2 separate regions of the Homo sapiens genome follow, and region 2 is linked to region 1. Evidence: promoter capture Hi-C in 16 types of primary human blood cells and fetal thymus (Javierre and others, 2016). All regions are on one chromosome and are shown on one strand. Each heading gives the region's core, a stretch centred on a gene start or on the middle of the fragment in contact. The rest is flanking DNA. Distances are from core to core; before and after follow the strand shown.

Region 1 (6,376 bases), core at 2,349-4,848:
CTTCTTGGGTTTCCCCAATCAGTCTATTAATATGAGATCAGACCCTTTCTGTCCAGTCATATTTCAACACTGTTGTCCATGCTTCAATCATGCCTAGCCAATGAAGTTTCCATAAAGGACCCAAGAGGAGGGGGTTCAGAGAGTTTCTGGATAGCTGAACTCATAGAGGTTCCTGGAGGGTGATGCATCCAAGGAGGGCATGGAAGTTCCAAGATCCTTCCCCCATATCTCATCTTATGCATCTGTATACTTTGTAGTATCCTTTATAATAAACCAGTAAATGAAAGCAAGTGTTTCCCTGAGTTCTGTCAGCCTCTCTAGTAAATTAATTGAATCCAAGGAGGGGGTCATGGGATCCCCTATTTACAGCCAGTTGGTCAGAAGCACAGGTAAAACAACCTGGGGCTTTCAACTGGCATTACAAGTGGCAGGGAAGAGGGGGTTAATCTTGTGGGACTGGGACCTCAACCTACGGGATCTGACACTATTTCCAGGTAGGTAGTGTCAACACTGAACAGGAGGACACCTAGCTGACGTCCACCGCAAAACTGACTGCTTACTTGGTGTTTGGAGAGAAATCCTCAGACATTTGGTCACAGGAGTCTTCTGTGCTTCTGTGTTGTTGGTGATGTTGAGATAATGAAAAAAACAGTTTGAGTTTTTTCTCCAACACAGTACTGTACTTCCAATAATGAGGACTCACCCTCCTAAGACGGTCCATCCCACATGCTGGAAGCTTTATTAGAAAAAGAGTGTGTGTGGCTTGGGGAAAGAGTAGGGGCTTCATGGGCAGATGGACTTGGATCTAAATCCCAGTTTTATTCACCACTTCTTAGCCGTGTGCTTTGTATATGCCACTGACTTTCCCTGGACCTCAACTGCCTCGTCTGTATACAGGGAAGATGGCACAGCGGTCTGGGCTCGCTAGAGGAGAAGATGTCAGGTCTATGGTAATGGGAGAGAATGATGGAAATGTGAGTTGAGACCAAATTAGTTCAGTGTACCCACCAGGCAGCATTTGCCTTCTGTTTGGAGAGGCAATGCAGGAGCATGTTGAAGACACAGGACTGGAGGCAGACAGCTGGGTTTGGATCCTAGCTGGAATCTTGAGAAACCAACTTAACCTTTCTATGCATTCATTTATATATAGGTAAAAAGGTGATCATCATAGTACCTTATCATAGGGTTGATGCAAGGATTGAGTAAATCAATACTTCCAAAACACTTAGCACCTGAATTATAAGAAATCATGCAATAAATGTTAGCTATTACAGTGATGATTATTATTATTTCTGCAATCAATAGGCCACTGAAAAGGTAGTGATAAGATCACTGCTTCTCAGATGTTTGACTGCACTGGAAGGTGTAGGATAGACAGGAGCAGAGAGCTGGTAGGCCAAAAACTAGTTAAGAGGTCACTGCAATTCTAAGTGAGGGGTGCTGAGTACCCAAAGTAGCAAAGATAAAGGAAAGAAAATGGGAGGAAATAAGCCAGATGCTAGACACGTCTGAGCAGTTGAATCAACAAAACTTGGCCAAAGCCTTGATGTGGCTGGTAAGAAAAATGGAATAGCAGAGAAGATAAAAGAATTTTGCCTGGCTGGGTGTGGTGGCTCATCCCTGTAATCCCAGCACTTTGGGAGGCTGAGGGCTGAGGCAGGAGGACTGCTTGAGCCCAGGAGTTCCAAGACCAACCTGGGCAACATAGCAAGGCCTCATCTCTAAAAAATAAAAATTAAAAGAAAGACTTTTTCTGAAAATGTATCAATTTTCAAACTAAGGTACCTTTTAAAGTTACCCTAAGAAATTAATTCTGCCTGTTCTAGACTGTGAACTTCTTGATCATCTTGTTAAACCCAATGGTCCTAGTACACAGCAAGCATTCAGAGTTTGTTGAGTGAGTAATCCATCAAGATATAACATCTGTATACAGAAAAAAAGTAAATATGGCAGCTTAGCCACTTGCAGTATCTGCTGTGTTCTGGATTATGTAAAGGCCAGCCCTACTAATTTGTAAGTATTCCAAATAGCATGTTTTACAGTCCCACTAACTGGAGAGGGACGGACTGCATCCAAAGCAAATATATATGTATTTAGACAGGAAATTTCTTCATAATACCTATATTCTCCATTTATTTAGAGTAGGGTTTCTTGACCTTGGCAATATTACAATTTGGGACTGGATAATTCTTCCCCGGGAGAGGTATGGGGTCACTGTCCTGTGCATTGTAGAGTTATTTACAGCTATCAAATTTTCACACATATCTGACAGATTGGATTTGAACCCCCTAACAACCCTGCAATGAGACAGGCAGAGTTTTCATTCCTGCAATGAGACAGGCAGAGTTTTCATTCCTGTTTAACAGGTGAGCAACTTCTAAATATTGCAAACGTTTGTTTTCTGTTTTAAAATATAAAAACACTATATTTGATGTAAACAAAAATGCAAGTGCCTAAAAAGGCAACCACATGTTTGACATTCACAAGATCATGAACCCTCCAATCCCACCTCTGCTATTCACTTATCTGGGCCATTTCAGGAGTGACTTCACCCTTGAGGCCTGTTGCTTTCACCTATGAAACCTGGGGTTTAACCAGGTGAGCATGAGGTATCCTCCTAACTCTAACACTATAATATCCTGGTCCTGTATTAGGAAACTTCAGTTTCACCCACATTACCTGCAGGCGACTTTTAACCTACTTGCCATGCTGCGACTATTACACAAAGCAACTGATGACAAGCCTTGGATGACAGGCCTCAGGGGCAATGCCTTCCACCTGGATGGCTACCTGATTCCAAAGACTTCAACAACCAATCCCATTCCTCCTACATCTTTACTCCTGCCTGAAGATTCGGACTCAACTTATTAAGAGCAACTTGGAAGGAAGGGGCAACAACCAAAAGAAACGAGTCACTAAAACAGTAGGGCCCTTCTCGGCAACCCCTGACACCACCCTGCACATCCAGTCCTTGAAAAGTTCTGTTTCTTTTCCTCCTATATCCAAGCCCTAAGATACCGCCCCTCCCCCACCCCAGCCCCCATATGCCACTGACACGCATTGGAGAGTGAGGATCAACGTCCCTTGCAGACGTGTGCACGGGCCTAGGAACCAGCTGACCCACGTTTCAACTGTCATTAACTTCTAACTACATGCCCCGTCGGGCCTGACCTGAGGCTGAACTCCTGTGACCTTCCAACTCCCCTGGATCTGCACGGCAGTCACTTGGAGGCACCGCCCCTGCGCTAGCTCCAGAGCTTGAGACAGGGTCCGGGCGGAGCTCCTTCCTGAGCCGGAGAAGACGCGCCCCTGTCCCTTCCGCGACTGCCGCCCCGCACTCCCTGCGGGGAGGTCGACCCCGGCGCATTCTAGGCCCCGCGGTCCTCCAGCGGGTTGGCCGCTACCTTGTCCAGCAGCCGGTAGATGCTGATGCCCGAGGTCTCCACTAGGAGCTGCCAGTCGGCCCCGGCCAGAGCGGGCTGCTGGAGCTCGGCGCAGGCCTCCCAGAACTGCTCCTCCGAGAAGCTTCCGGCGGCCAGCTCCATCCTTCCGCAGTCCGGGCTCCTCCGCCTGGAGGGCAGGCCGCGGACACCCTTAGTGTGGGCCTGGGGGCGGGGTGACCGGGCTGCCCCGGCTGCCCCGGCTGCCCCAGCGTCATTGGCAGGAAACTGAGGAGAAGGCGGGGCCTAGACTGGAGGAGCGGCCTGAGGGTGGGGCCCTGGAGGGGCGGGCCTAGAAAAGCGGGCGGGGCTGAGCAAGGAGTGAGGAGGATAGACAAGAAGTAAAAGGAGAAAAATTGGACTTGATGTGGGGAAGGAAGGAAGAGCTGGAGAAGTAAGGAGGCTTCCAGAGGGAAGGGAAAAAGGAAGGGAGACAGTGATGTCACCTCAAAAACAGCTCCTCAGTAGCCTATCCCATACTCCCTGCTACTCCCATAACCTACAGACCTGTTTGAGTGTCTCTCATTTACCTTTCTGAATAAAGTAGAGAAAGTCTCTTTGGTAGACATGAGAGGAGAGGTGGGCAGAGTAGAAATGCTGGAAAAATCCTAAGGGGTCAAATGCCAGAAGTGTATTTCAATATAATTTCTCTTCTTTCTGCTATACATTGTAAAACATTATTCTGAGACGAGGTCCATTGGATTCCCCAGAAGACTCTAGGGGTTCATAACACCAAAACAGTTTAGAAACCTAATCCATAATGGATCTACAAGGTTGTTGCCACCCTTGAGGGTAGAAACTGATCTGAAAGGTGTCGTACTATCCACCTAGGATTTCTGCAACTTGCATAATTTAGCTCACTGTGCAACTCAAACATCTTCTTGTTCCTTTGAAGTCCCTTGAGTAATACTGTATTTCCCACCAGCAGACTGTACTACCTGACTTTGAATAAAGTAGGTCGTTTGAACATCAAAACGATGTAACAGCCACGTGAGTGCCAATAAACTCTGGAAACTCATGTTTCCTAATCTGTAAAATGGGTCAAGAATTGTGCTACCAGTTACAGCTGAGGAGGTGGTTGGACAAGGAATAATTTTCCACAGTGCCCGTCCAAGTAAATGTTCAATAACAATTTCCACTTGTTTTGCATTACTATATTGAAATGCTTTTCTTTCCTTACTTGAAAGAAAGTTGATGGCAAAGTCTTAATTTATGTGATTTTCCAATCAGGCAAATGATCACATTTGGCAGCTTGCTTAGTTAGACACAGCAGAGATAAATAATTGCTTTCCTCAAGTCAGTCCTGGTTCTGTTTGGCTTTATAGGTGTGGAAAGAGGGATGTGAAATTTTCCTAGACTAAATGCACAAAAGTTTAGGCTAGACATACTTTCCCACTGTTTTATAACTCCTTGTAAATTTTCTATGTATTGTAAATCCATATTTTATTTAAATGGAAATTCATTGCTTGAAAAACCAATTGTGTAAAAACTATTGGCTATGAAGTATTTTCAAGTATCTTCAAGGAATCCATTATAAAGGTTTGATTTGATAAAGCTTTATTACTATATGGCAATAGACTAATGGAGACAAGCATAAGAACACAAACGACATCATGCAAGATATAAAGCACGCACTTCAAATTGTATTTATTGTATGTGTTTAAAAGTGTGTTGCCTAATAAACTCAGGAGAAAAATAAATATATCCTTGAATATGCTGAGATTTACACTCAGTTATTTTATTACAGTTAATGAAAGAATAATGTTAGGAAATATTTTATGGTATCTCTAAAGTCTAAAAACAGCTAGGAAAGGGATCCAGGAAGGCCTGTTCTTGAGAAGTTGCCTTAATAGCCTGTTTCCTTTGTGAAAAAAAACTCTCTGAAACAACTTCTGGCAAAATGGCAACTAAAGCTCCTGGCTTCAAACATGGAAATGTTGGTTAAAACGTGTTGAAAATAGTTGTAAATACATGGTTTAGCTGAAAAGTGAAAAAGGATACTTCCAGGTTTCAGAAAGGGAAGAGAGAATGAAAGCCAGCAACACCAGCTCCTGAATATTCTTAGAATGGATGATTGGTCCTCTCCCCACCTCCCCATGCAGTGTTTCCCAGTGGAGGAACTTCCATTAGGGAAATGTTTGACCTCACTCATTTGCTCAACTCCTACTCTGGAGAAGATGGGTGATTTAAATGCAGCCATGCATTGCTTAATGACAGGGATATATTCTGAGAAATGTGTCATCGGGCAATTGCATCCTAAAGCATACATCATAGAGTGCACTTAAACCAACCTAGATGGTAGATTCTACTACATATGTAGGCTGTATTGTAGAGCCTATTGTTCCTGGGCCACAAACCTGTACAGCATGTTACTGTACTGAATACTGAATGCAATTGTGACACAATGGTATTTGTGTATCTAAGCCTAATTAACATAGAAAAGGTAAAATAAAAATATGGTGCTATAATCATATGGGACCATCATCATACAGGCAATCCAACATTGACCAAAATGTTATTATGATGTGCATGACTGTAGTTGATGAGTTTAGGAGAAGGAACTACTGGTCAGGTCTAGATCAACCCTTCTGGCTCTTCCTTTTTGGCAACTGTCTACTCATAGAAAATATGCATTCTCATCTGCCTTAGGTTTTATAGTAGACTCAAGAGGACAGGCTCTGACACCAGAATCTAGGTTTCCTAATGATGCCTGTGCCTGGATGGCAAGTTTGATTATAGGCAGAGTGTTATAATTCTATTGTTGCCACAAACCCAAGCCCTGTTCTCCAAGCAGCTTTATTTGTAATAAAGGTGAAATGCTGATCCATTGTCTGATTAGCATCTACCTTTAATGTGATTCAGAATGCAGATGGGGAAGAGAAGAGCATTGACTTTGAAAAATAACCAAGTAGACCCTCCATAAATACAAAATATAG
Region 2 (6,602 bases), core at 3,461-5,960, 770 kb after region 1:
CTCTGGCAAAAAATAGAAAATGACTTATATGCTAGGTTATTCATTTTGGCATAATTTGTATTCACCAGAAATTGCAAATGTATTGTTTGCCCATCCATAATATAGTGGCTGAATAAACCATGGTACATCCACACAATAGAATATTATGCAGTTATAACAAAAACAAGGAATATAACAAAAACAAGTTATAACAAAAAACAAGGAAGATTTTTATAAACTGATATGAAGGGATCACCAGGATATACATTAAAACAAAAAGCCAAGGTCAAAACAGTATACATGACACCTTTTACTTAAGAATATTCTGGGGAGTGGAATCCAAATATATATAATTATCATGTGTACATACATATGTGTATATTTATTTTTATATATATGCATTGGCTTAACCAAAAAGAAGCACTACAAAAGGACCAAGAATAAAAACAACTTTTTATAGAGGGAATGAGGGCACACAGTGAAGACTAGAATAACAGCAAGATTTTTTTTAATATGCCTTGTTAAAGGTATGTTTTACGTTTGCAAAATGGCCACCAATTCCTCCCATTCCTGTCTGCATGCATCTTGGTAATGTGACTTTACTGCTTCCTTTCACTAAAAGCAAAGTCTGTATCTCCACTCCTTGAATTTTCATTTGGCTATTTAAATTGCTTTGGCCCATGGGATACCAGCAAATGTGAGGAAACTGGGTATTTGGAAAACACCTGTGCTTCTGCTACCATGTGAAAAGCTTGAGCCAGCCTCCTGAAGAATGACAGACCAGTTCTACAGAGACCTCTGCCATTCAACCTTCCTAGCTGAGGCCTCACAAGATGTAAATGAGGCCATCCTACATTATCTGGTATAGAGCAGAACTGCTCAACCAACCCACTGAATCATGAGAAAAAATAAATGCTTATTGTTTTAAGGGATTTTAGGGTGGTTTGTTAGTCAGCAAGAGTTAATCTATATATTATCAAATTTTTTTAATGGAATTATAAAATATTCTAGATATTAAAAATCAAAATTTAAAAAAGAAATCTCACAAAAGAGTTTTTAAAAATGTATTTGACAATTGTCTATTTTTTATTATTTTTAGAGACAGAGTTTTGCTATGTTGCCCAAGCTGGAGTGCTGTGGCTATTAACAGGTACAATCATAGCATACTACAGCCTCAAACTCCCAACTTCAGGCTATCCTCCTGTCCTAGTCTCCCGAGCAGCTGGGACTACAGGCATGCCCTACCGTGCCTGCACAGATGACTTAAAAGAGAATGCAGATTTTGTTCTATACACTGATTTACATTGAAAGGTAATTCAACGTATTACTTTACTCACTACTCATTGCTGCTATCCTAGACCACATTAGAGAGCTAGATGTAAAAAAACTTTTAATCAAATGTTCATTAATAGTTTACATATTTCAAACTATATTTCAAAACATATTAAACTTAAAAATTACTTTTCAAGTAGACTGGGTGATACTACAGTAGATGTATTTTTATTCATGCTTTCACCAAAGTAGCCTTGGATTTAACAGCTGTATAAATGAAGATCTTGATGAAGAGTCTAGAAATTCTTCTTTTCCTAGGATTGAAGAAGTAGAAAATAAATTGTCAGGTCTTAGAACTGTCAAATTTGATTCCAACTGTTCATAAAAACATTATATACACTTGGAACATAAATAATATAAGCCTGTATATAGATGTTAGATGTATTGTATGTATTTTGTGTTATGGCATTTTATCATTGACAATAACATCCGAGAAGTGTAAAGACAGCTCATTAGATAGATAAGTCTATGTCTATATCATTATGAATATCCATATCTATATAACATCTTCATTTTCTGGCAAAAGTGAACATACAGCTAAGCTTTAGGTAACTATTACAACTTCCACCCTTGGTAAGCTTAAAAATCACATAATAGTTAAAGATTAAGGAAAATGTCTCCTGTGAGTACAAGGCTACGAAGCTTATAGTCAGAAAAATAATTATGCAATGCATTTGAAAAAAACTAAATTCTTATTATCTTACCAACTATCTTGAGACACTTCCTGCAGATCCTATATTACTCTGACTAATATTATTCCAGGAACTTCTTAAATGGCTTTCCTATGAAGAGAAAAAAATATGCTTTTAATGTCTTATATTGTTCCACTGTGAAAATTACAGAGAATAGTGGTGTCATTTAATTAAAACAAACTGTATTTGAACAGAGATTTACCACCTTTTCATAAGAACAATGAATGAAGCAAAGGAACTTAAAGTTGAAAAAGACACTAGGATCATTTAGTACAACTCTCTTCCTGAAGAAATGAGGAGCTAGATTCAGAGACTGTGTGGTTTTCCCTCACAAATGAAAAATAGTGTTTTTGTTGTTGTTGTTGTTGTTGTTTTTCTTCTCCTAACTAGAACTCAGGTTATAGTCTACAGGATGGACCTTGAGATCTGATAGGCCTGGGTTCTCATTTGAAATTTTGGGCTTCTCCAAGCCTCAGTTTCTACAGAGGTACAGTAGGTGCCTTGATTGTGGCGATGATTTCACAAATGGATACATGTCAAATGTAACAAACTGTCTCACTTTAAATATCTGCTGTTTGTTGTAAATCAATTATAGCTTAATAAAGTTAAACTTTTAAAAAACCCGATTTTCAGTTAAAAATGGCATCTTGACCTTGGCACATATATTCTTTCCCTCCCAAGAGCCAACTAATATGAAAGTCTTAGGGTAAAGAGTTACAAACAGTACAAACTCAGAATGTTGAAGAGTAAATGGGAAAAGAGCCATTGGATGAAAATTTTGAACAAGTTTTTGGAAGATAAAAAAAAGATGGTTGGGTGATAATTGGTAAAAGAGGGGTGAAGAAGCTGAAATTTAGGGCAGTGCTTCTTAAACATTTTTTAAGTCTGAGCACACACATAATGGTAATATTTGTATGGCATACTAAGGTAAAGAAAGCTGATATCCTCTGAAAAGCTGAGGAGAATCAATATATCAGCACATCAGCAACTGATTCACAACAAAATTCTGGCCTAGGAAACAGGTGCAGGAGGAACATATCTTAAAGAATCCCAGAGAAACTGGCCGGGTGCGGTGGTTCACGCCTGTAATCCTAGTACTTTGGGTGGCCGAGGCGGGTGGATCACGAGGTCAGGAGATCGAGACCATCCTGGCTAACACGGTGAAATCTCGTCTCTACTAAAAATACAAAAAAAATTAGCCGGGCGTGGTGGCAGCGCCTGTAGTCCCAGCTACTCGGGAGGCTGAGGCAGGAGAATGGCGTGAACCTGGGAGGCGGAGCTTGCAGTGAGCCAAGACCGTGCCACTGCACTCCAGCCTGGGCGACAGAGCCAGACTCCGTCTCAAAAAAAAAAAAAAAAAAAAAGAAAAAAGAAAAAGAGAGTCCCAGAGAAATTGAAGACTCAGAAACAAAAAGTTCTAGGGAGAACAAAACTGAGAGATTAAAGACTAAAATCAAGAGGATCATCCTATCTTTTCTTCAACCACTGTATGCAGAAGAAATCATAGATTCTTCCGTAAATTAACTGAATGGGCCCCAAACACAGAGCCAACTACTTTTGAGACCCTAACATAGCAATGTATTCACTGGTCTGGGTGGTAAAAACACATTTCGACTTTCACGCCCTCTGTAGTAGCAAGCAACAGGAACAGTGGAAGCATGCAGATCAACAGCAGCCAGAAAAATGAAGCCACCAAGCCACAATGTCAGTAGCAAAAGTCCAATGACCATGAAGTAAGAAAGTTATTCAGTACCCATGAGGAAAAGAAGGGCCACCTGAGGGAGGAGCTTAAAATCCTTGGGCTTTGACTAGTAGTCTCTCAGAGTCAAGAGCCACTGCAGCTGTCCACAAGACTGATATAGTCATGGAAGAGAGTTCAATTCTAAAACTAAGTTTGCATAAGTTCATTATAGACTGCTTTAATGATACACGCATGGAGCAGATTCTCAAACCTCAAGAGAGGTCATTCTCAAATAATAACAATAATAGCAACTACCATTAATTGGCACTATGTTTCACACACTATGTATTCCAAATGTATTTATTTAATATTGTGGAAAATGTACTAGACATAAGTAAAAAAAAAAGAAAAGAAATGCAGAGTTCAAATGGCAATACTGCCATGGGCTAGTAATATGGCATTAGAAAAATTGCCTAACCTCTTAGCATCTCCTCCTATTAAGTAAGGTAAGAATAGTAACACCTTGCTCAAAAGCAGATGTGAAAAACTGAGCAGTCTTTCTACTGGTACCAAAGTGAGTAAGATCCTCATCTTTGGTGAGTTGTTCTAACTGGACACAGGTCCCCAGGTCCCCTGGGAACATATTCAAGCCTAATGATGTATAAATGCTACTCTACAATAGATTCCATATAATATACTTAACAAGACATTTTAAAACATTTCTATTTTAAGGTTTAAAATAAAATTTAGGTGTTTATTCCATTCACTTAACATGCTGGCAGTGTCCTAAGTGCCAAAGATGAGATGAGATCAGGAGGGGTGAAGTGCTCTGACAGCAGTATACACAGGGAGTATGGAGAAAGGCTGCGTAACCTGGGATCTAAGTCATCATTAAACACGAATACAGCCAGGCACCATGTTACAGGATTTTCTTCCCACAGGAGCCCCACAAGGGAGGTATTATTAACCCAATTTTATACAAAAGAAAAATAAGTCATACAGAAAGTATGTGGCTTGTCCATTGTCACAGGCTAGTTGTAAAGTAGAGTTTGAACCCTGCTCTTTCTTGCTCCAAACCCAAGCTGTTTGTTTCTACTACAGTATGCTGGAAAATTAATTCAGGTAAAAAGTTTGATTCACCAAAAAAGTGGAATGAGAGAGTAAGGAGTGGTAATGTGTTATCTCTTTTATATAAAGATGACACTATTGATTAAACAGAAGTGGGTTTAATCTTATCCATCCCAACAGTGGTATTCATTGTCATGTCCTTAAATATCATAAAATGCCTGTCCTTTCCCTCTCCTTTGCCTGCTTCCTACTCTCTCTTTATACAAACTTGCAAGGCCCTCAGCCAACAGGGATTCCAGTAATGTTACATACACATACTCACCACACTCACACACACACACACACACACACACACACACAAACCACCCTCAAGTTCCCATAATTAATAAATAACACAGAAGGAAAACATTCTGTTCTTTTACTAAAAATATGAACATTGAAGACAAATATATTGTTATTCTAGTTTGGTGAATCATAAGAGGCAAACAGGTCAGCAAAAACAGAGAAAGTGGAACATTGGAGAAAAAAAATCTTGTTGTTAAAGATGAATCTATTCCAGAAAACTTAAATTAGAGCTTTTCTTTGATAAGTCTGTTTACTTATGATCTCATTAAAACAATCTTCATCCCATGTAATTAGAAATCTCATCAGATTAAAAAAATCTGTCCATAACGCATATGGTGTTTGAGTAAGACTTAGTAATTTATATTCTCAGACATGGTATTCAATAAAACCAGTTCTTTTCACTGGACAAAAAATAGAGAAAATAAAAGGGATAAAAATATCTTCTGCCAGAAATTATAGTAAATATTAATTTAATGAAATTACAAAAATGCCATAATGAAATTGATACAAATTGCCAAATGTCCCTCAGTCAGGGTTGTACTAATTTACTATCTCACCAACTATAGTGCCTGTTACTCTAAATTTTCTCCACTATGGTATACTAAATAACGTTTGGATTTTTGCCAGTTTTATTGATGAAAATGGTATCTCAAGGTAGTTGGAGTGAGGCAGAAGAGTTTTTTTATGCTTTAAGAACCATTCAGTATCTTCTTTTATGTGAACTGTGTTTTTTTTACATCTTTTGCCAATTCTTCTATTTATCGTTAGGTCTTTCTCTGTTCAGTTTCTAGGAGTTCTTAAATATTACAGAAATTATCTCTCTATCAGCATTAAGAATTGCAAATATATTTTCCCCCCTTTTCTTCTGGGTTATGGGCTTTTTGTTACACAAAAGTTTGTGGCTAACTTATGAATCTTTTATGATTTCCAGGTTTTAGGTCAAATTAGAAACTCCTTGCCCACTCCAAAGTTATAAAGAATTCTCTCATATTTTCTTCCAGTACTCTTATGGTTTCATTTTTAAATATTTGATCCATTTGGAATCCATCATAATATAAAGCACAGATCCAACTCATATTTTTCCCAAGAAGACCACCCCATTGTCTCAACTACATTTATTAAATCTTTTCCCCACCATTTTGAGATACAACTTTCATCATATACAAAATCTCTTAAGTGTTTGGGTCTACTTCTGTAATTTTTATTCTGGCCCTTTGGTTAGGTTGTTTATTTGTACACCAATGCCATTCTATTTTAATTACAGAGGCACTATCATATCTAGTAAGGCCGATCATCTCTCATTTGTTCTTTTGTTAACCAAGTTTCCCTGGTTGTTTTTGGTTGTTTATTTTTACACATTAAATTCAAAGTATTCTTATCTTGTTTAAAAAACAAAACAATGCTATTTGTAAGGGAATCACACTAAATTTACAAATAATTGAAGAAGTATTGTTATCTATGATGTTATTTTGAGTCTTCCTATCCAGGAATTTGGTATCACTTTC

The links. The method cuts DNA at HindIII sites, captures the fragments that hold promoters and counts their contacts. A CHiCAGO score of 5 or more calls a contact.
Region 2: a contact is called between a fragment that was not itself captured here and the fragment with the promoter of PCTP in region 1, in 1 of 17 cell types (erythroblasts). The highest score is 5.7, in erythroblasts.

Annotation. Positions count from the first base shown.
Region 1 is chr17:55,748,273-55,754,648 of GRCh38, reverse strand. PCTP (phosphatidylcholine transfer protein) reads right to left here and starts at 3,598. Exons shown (of 6, transcript NM_021213.4): 1 at 3,405-3,598. The coding sequence starts at 3,545. RefSeq lists a silencer at 3,461-3,800. The HindIII fragment of the contact is 1,470 bases long and covers 3,528-4,997 here.
Region 2 is chr17:54,981,105-54,987,706 of GRCh38, reverse strand. STXBP4 (syntaxin binding protein 4) reads right to left here. Exons shown (of 18, transcript NM_178509.6): 2 at 2,016-2,093; 3 at 1,441-1,565. The coding sequence starts at 1,487. Among named protein-coding and RNA genes, the nearest start is that of STXBP4, 16 kb to the right of the region's middle. The HindIII fragment of the contact is 5,509 bases long and covers 1,956-6,602 here.